2 separate regions of the Homo sapiens genome follow, and region 2 is linked to region 1. Evidence: promoter capture Hi-C in human tissues and cell types (Jung and others, 2019). All regions are on one chromosome and are shown on one strand. The core of a region is centred on a gene start or on the middle of the fragment in contact, and the rest is flanking DNA. Distances in the headings are between cores, read along the strand shown. Region 1 holds the start of NEUROG2 (neurogenin 2). Region 2 has its middle 130 kb from the start of ANK2-AS1.

The links. Contacts are between HindIII fragments. The study calls those that stand out against the background at their distance.
Region 2: a contact is called between a fragment that was not itself captured here and the fragment with the promoter of NEUROG2 in region 1, in 1 of the 25 tissues and cell types used here (thymus).

What each region holds. Positions count from the first base shown.
Region 1 is chr4:112,514,654-112,517,641 of GRCh38, reverse strand. It overlaps NEUROG2 (neurogenin 2), which reads left to right and starts at 1,462. Exons shown (of 2, transcript NM_024019.4): 1 at 1,462-1,795; 2 at 2,166-2,988. The coding sequence starts at 2,167. The coding sequence ends at 2,985. NEUROG2-AS1 (NEUROG2 and ZGRF1 antisense RNA 1) reads right to left here and starts at 2,263. Exons shown (of 4, transcript NR_161159.1): 1 at 2,002-2,263. It overlaps LOC124900760 (a long non-coding RNA gene), which reads right to left and starts at 837. Exons shown (of 2, transcript XR_007058231.1): 1 at 603-837. RefSeq lists enhancers at 241-360, 461-560, 1-691 and silencers at 701-980, 2,301-2,370, 2,631-2,830. The HindIII fragment of the contact is 15,153 bases long and covers 1-2,988 here.
Region 2 is chr4:112,910,503-112,913,490 of GRCh38, reverse strand. It overlaps a transcript of ANK2 not described here. Among named protein-coding and RNA genes, the nearest start is that of ANK2-AS1, 130 kb to the left of the region's middle. The HindIII fragment of the contact is 4,274 bases long and covers 1-2,988 here.

The sequences.
Region 1 (2,988 bases), core at 213-2,712:
ACTGTGCCTTGCCTAAAGTTAATTTGCAAAGGGGATCTCAAGGGACGCCACTCCGGTCTACTGAAGTCCGGATCCATCCCCATGTCGACAAGAGGGTGGGCATGAACGTGGGGAAAGTGGGGAGGGCTAACGAGCAATTGAGAACAAGTTTCCCCCGAGGTCCAGTAGCCCTTCAGCTCTTTTTTCTCATTGAAAAGCAGAATTGGGAAGATGGGCCCCTTGTCCCTACAACGCCCCCCAGCGCGGAGCAGAGGTCACAGAAATGTCAGCGCAGCGCATTTGCTTGCAGGAGCAGCAGCTCTGCCGCTCCTCCCGCTCGGTTCGCTGCCACCCACGCAGGAAGCCTCCTTGCTGTCCCTCCAGGCTATAAACTGGGTTAACCCCAGCAAAACCTGCATCAGTGCCCGGAGCCTCAGTTTCCTGTATGTAAAATGAGGGGGATCCTTTCAGCTCTAACATGTGAGTGATTTCATTCTCACATCCTCTAAAAGCTCATCAACTGCTCCCCTATCCGACCTCCCCTCCCAAGAGACGCCTGTTTGAATCCCCAGTGTCCTCTCCCTTCACTCTCCCACGCCAGTTTCGACGGACCCCAAACACACTTGTTCACGAGGTGTCCACATCTCTCCATCCACGCCATTCTCCTCCCCTAACCAAATGAATCCATTTTAAAATCGTTTACTATTTGATACAACCCCTAAGAGGCTTTGCCAAGAGACGCCCGGCAGCACCACAGGGCTAACTGCTTTCCCCGGGATTCTGACCCCCATTAACTAATTCCTAGTTCCCATCACCCGGGAGTTAGGAGGGCCGGCAGCGCCGGGTGCGGTGCCTGCGCGCGCGCCGGGCGGGGGGAGCCTCGGCGGCAGCGAGGACGAAGGCGGGGGCGGTAGCACGGGTCCCCCCATCCGCCCCCAGCGCTCGGGCCCCTAATGAGCTGCTGAAAGGGAGCGGGCTCCGGTGCGCGTGGCTCGCAGGCCTCCCGGAGTCCAGGGCGCCCTGATTGGCCAGCTGCGCCTCGCGACCTCCATTCATTAATAAATTAGCGGCACGCTCCAGCCGAGCGCGAGCCACCAATCACAATGGACAGCGGCGGCGACAACAGCCGCAGCTTGAGCCTCTGCGGCCGCTGCGGCTTCGCCAGCTCCGGCCGCAGCCCGGAGCTCCAACAGGAGCTTTAGAACCATTTTATGTTGATTAGATAAAGGGGGAAAAGAGAGGCGGGGGTGGTGGGAGGAGGAGGATGGATGGCAGGGCCAAGGGAGGGGGAAAGGCGGTGAAGAAAGAGGAAGAAATGAATGATGATAATGCAATGAAAAGAATAAGCCAGAGGAGGGAAAAGCGGGGGAGAAGGGGGGCAGGACTGACAGGAGGAGGAGGCGGTGGCGGGGGAGGAGGGGGCCCGGGGCAGATCTGATTGTTTTCTTGGTGGTATATAAGGGGTTTTAAGGAGAGTCGTGTGCCAGACACGCAGCCACTGAACCACAAGCAGCTTCGCGTTAACTGGAGTGCCTGGGAGTCGCGTGCCAGGAGCCGCACGGCCAGGGACTGACTGACAGACAGACACGCACCACCACCACAACACACGAGACCCGGGCGGGCCGCCGCCGCCGCCGCCGGGGCTCTTGGCAAACTCGCCGGTCGCAGAGGTCCCCCGCGGAGCTGCGCCACAGTAGCGCCGGGCTTGCAGCTTTCACGCCGGGCGAAGGACCCGGCGCTGCGCTCGCAGCTGCGCGGAGATTCCCGGCACAGGCCAAAGTCACAGCAACGCTGAGGCACAGTTAGAGCCAACTAAGTAAGTATTCGAGCCACCGCTTCCAACTACGCAGGTGGTTTCCCCGCACTCAGTCCAACCACACCCGCACGCCCTCTGCTCCGCGCAGAATCTTTGTCGCGGAGGCCGCAGTCCCTTCTCGGGGAGGGAACGCAGGACCGCCCGCGGAGGGCAGGACCCGGCTGACTGGCAGCAGGGTCACAGCGAGCGCTAGCGGCGCTCCTGACCTTGGTTAGCACTGCCTGGGTTTCTTCCTTCGCCTTCCTGCTCCGCGCCATTCGGAGCTGGTCTTCTCGGGTGCGCGCCGGAGCACGCCCCTGTGACACGAAGATCGCGCCTCTGTTTCTTTCCTTACACCTCACTGCCTTTTTCCCCTTTCTCTCTTCGGTAGGATGTTCGTCAAATCCGAGACCTTGGAGTTGAAGGAGGAAGAGGACGTGTTAGTGCTGCTCGGATCGGCCTCCCCCGCCTTGGCGGCCCTGACCCCGCTGTCATCCAGCGCCGACGAAGAAGAGGAGGAGGAGCCGGGCGCGTCAGGCGGGGCGCGTCGGCAGCGCGGGGCTGAGGCCGGGCAGGGGGCGCGGGGCGGCGTGGCTGCGGGTGCGGAGGGCTGCCGGCCCGCACGGCTGCTGGGTCTGGTACACGATTGCAAACGGCGCCCTTCCCGGGCGCGGGCCGTCTCCCGAGGCGCCAAGACGGCCGAGACGGTGCAGCGCATCAAGAAGACCCGTAGACTGAAGGCCAACAACCGCGAGCGAAACCGCATGCACAACCTCAACGCGGCACTGGACGCGCTGCGCGAGGTGCTCCCCACGTTCCCCGAGGACGCCAAGCTCACCAAGATCGAGACCCTGCGCTTCGCCCACAACTACATCTGGGCACTCACCGAGACCCTGCGCCTGGCGGATCACTGCGGGGGCGGCGGCGGGGGCCTGCCGGGGGCGCTCTTCTCCGAGGCAGTGTTGCTGAGCCCGGGAGGAGCCAGCGCCGCCCTGAGCAGCAGCGGAGACAGCCCCTCGCCCGCCTCCACGTGGAGTTGCACCAACAGCCCCGCGCCGTCCTCCTCCGTGTCCTCCAATTCCACCTCCCCCTACAGCTGCACTTTATCGCCCGCCAGCCCGGCCGGGTCAGACATGGACTATTGGCAGCCCCCACCTCCCGACAAGCACCGCTATGCACCTCACCTCCCCATAGCCAGGGATTGTATCTAGAGC
Region 2 (2,988 bases), core at 263-2,762, 400 kb before region 1:
AAAGTTTGGAATAAGTAAAAGTCCAAAGTAAAATCAATTGTTTTAACATTAAAATATACTGTGTACAGGAGGTTGAGGTGGTAGGATCGTTTGAGCCCAGGAGTTCAAGGCAAGCCTAGGTAACACAGAGAGACTGATAATATTGACTTTACATATTCAACAGGAAAAATAATTATACTAGTCAAAATCCTTTACAATAAGCTTCATTTTACCATAAAACTCTACATTACAGAAAGGTAATTAAGTATCCATTACTGGCCATTTACATAAATTTTAATATTCAAGTAATATTTAATATAGCACTATGCTATTATCAAATAATTTGGATGGTTAGAATGGGATTGATCCTAGCAACAATAGATATGAAGAACTCTGTACTCTACCACTGGAGCTAATATGAGTTTTTTTACGGTTACATAGGCATCCCGAGCCTATGTAGTGCACTTTGTTCCAATCATCTACATATTATAACATAAAATTATAAATTTGGAAAAAACCTTAGAGACTTCAGCAGATTTTCAGTCTAGTGCTTCCCCTACCCCACACCACCCCCATCAACATTCATTACATCATGTCTTCCTAGATGTAGTCATTTCTAGAATCTGAAAATTATTTTTTAATATTTATTTATTTATTTATTTTAAAGACATGGTCTCACTATGTTGCCCAGGCTGGACTTGAACTCCTGGGCTCTAGCTATCCTCCCACCTCAGCCTCCCAAGTAACTGGGACTAGAACCTAAAAATTATTTAATTTACATATACATATCTCTACTTCACTCTGGTCACATGGCTGACTTCTTCCTAATAATATCAAAATAAATTAGGCTGCTCACAAATTTGGTCTTCTAGAAACCATAGTGTGGGCTATCCTCTATTAAGCTCTCATAATTGTGTGATATTTTCCAGGTTACTTTTCTAGGAATATATATTTTTACTTTGGGATTCCCCACTTAAAAGATAAGAAAATGGGAGGGATAGGAAAATCATAATATACACCACCCCTTACCCCACTCAAAAAATGGCAACTAGATTAATTTTCTTAAATTCAATATTACACGAGTGAAATTTTGCTTGGGAACTTTTAAGTAGGAATAAATGGCTTCTAAAGTAATATGTTTTATCAGGGTATCAGGGTTTGGTCATCTTTTCATAGAAAATAAGTATGTTTGGAAACAACTGGCTCACATAACCGGTTCCTTCTCTTTTTCCAATTGTTGTCACTTAAAAAATATTCATCAGAAAGTGGAAAATTTGTTTTGAACTGCACTTGCCGTCCCTAAAGTGCCACATCAGTTTCTTTTTTTTTTTTTTTGAAACGGAGTCTCGCTCTGTCACCCAGGCTGGAGTGCAGTGGCACGATCTTGGCTCACTGCAAACTCCACCTCCGGGGTCCACACCATTCTCCTGCCTCAGCCTCCCGAGTAGCTGGGACTACAGGCGCCCGCCACCACGTTCGGCTAATTTTTTGTATTTTTAGTAGAGACGGGGTTTCACTGTGTTAGCCAGGATGGTCTCGATCTCCTGACCTCGTGATCCACCTGCCTCAGCCTCCCAAAGTGCTGGGATTACAGGCGTGAGCCACCACGCCTGGCCCACATCAGTTTCTTAACAACAAAGAAGACATAATTATTAACACAATAATCAATTAAACAGATGTATTTTTAGCTAACTCACTTTAAAAACTTAAACTATTTTTCTAGCTAACTCAAATATTCTCTAAATATCTGATGTAGATAGCTTTTTTCTTTTTTTATCTCAATGACCTGACAAAATATATAGAGCAACTTTAGCTTCTCTCTAGTGTCAATGACAACATAATAAGGAAAAACATAGCAACAGAGTTTGTTTAAAAATATATTGATAATGGCAGCCAGGTGTGGGCACGCACCCATAGTCCCAGCTATTCAACAGGCTGAAGTGGGAGGATCTCTTGAGCCCAAGAGTTCAAGTCCAGCTTGGGCAACATAGTGAGATATATCGCTCTGTTGCCCAGGCTGGAGTGCAGTGGTTCGATCTCCGCTCACTGCACGCTCCGCCTCCCAGGTTCACGCCATTCTCCTGCCTCAGCCTCCGGAGTATGAGGAAGTACAGGTGCCAACCACCACGCCCGGCTAATTTTTTGTATTTTTAGTAGAGACGGGGTTTCACCGTGTTAGCCAGGATGGCTAACTAGATTAGTTAACTATATCTCCTGACCTCGTGATCCGCCCGCCTCGGCCTCCCAAAGTGTTGAGATTACAGGCATGAGCCACTGCGCCCAGCCGAGATATACCATCTCTAAAAAAAAAAAAAAAAAAAAAGCACCATCTTGGCCAACATGGTGAAACCCCGTCTCTACTAAAGTCTCTACTAAAAATACAAAAATTAGCTGGGCATGGTGGCTCATGCCTGGAATCCCAGCTACTCGGGAGGCTGAGGCAGGAGAATTGCTTGAACCCGGGAGTCGGACGTTGCAGTGAGCTGAGATCGTGCCACTGCACTCCAGCCTGTCGACAGAGCGAGACTCCATCTAAAAAAAAAAAAAAAAAAAAGGCAAATAATAAACAAAAGTCTTCAAATTATAAACCAAATGGTTTGAGCTTCTGCCAATTATGATAAATTATTTTGGGAGCACAAATGGGTATTAAAAACTTTTTAAAAGAAGGCTAAATATAGAATTCTCTTTCAACATTTTTTTAAACATTGCCTCTAAAATCTCTTAATAGTTGTCTTCCAAATATTATCCTCTTTCTAAGGTAAAAAAGACAAAAGATAATTAGTTCCTCTGGAAGTCTCTATGTTTGCCTGATGGTACTGAGCAGAAATATGCATATTTGCAGATCTGCCAAGTGCAACCCATTTTGCTGGACAATTCCCAGTGCATTGAATCTCTGCCAAAAAAATAAGCTGGGTGTTGAAAGTTCCTTTTTATCCGTCTGCAGAATTTCACTTTCTCCCTCTGCTGGCTGCCACAGACCCCCTTTACAGATATTAGGTTTAGATGTGC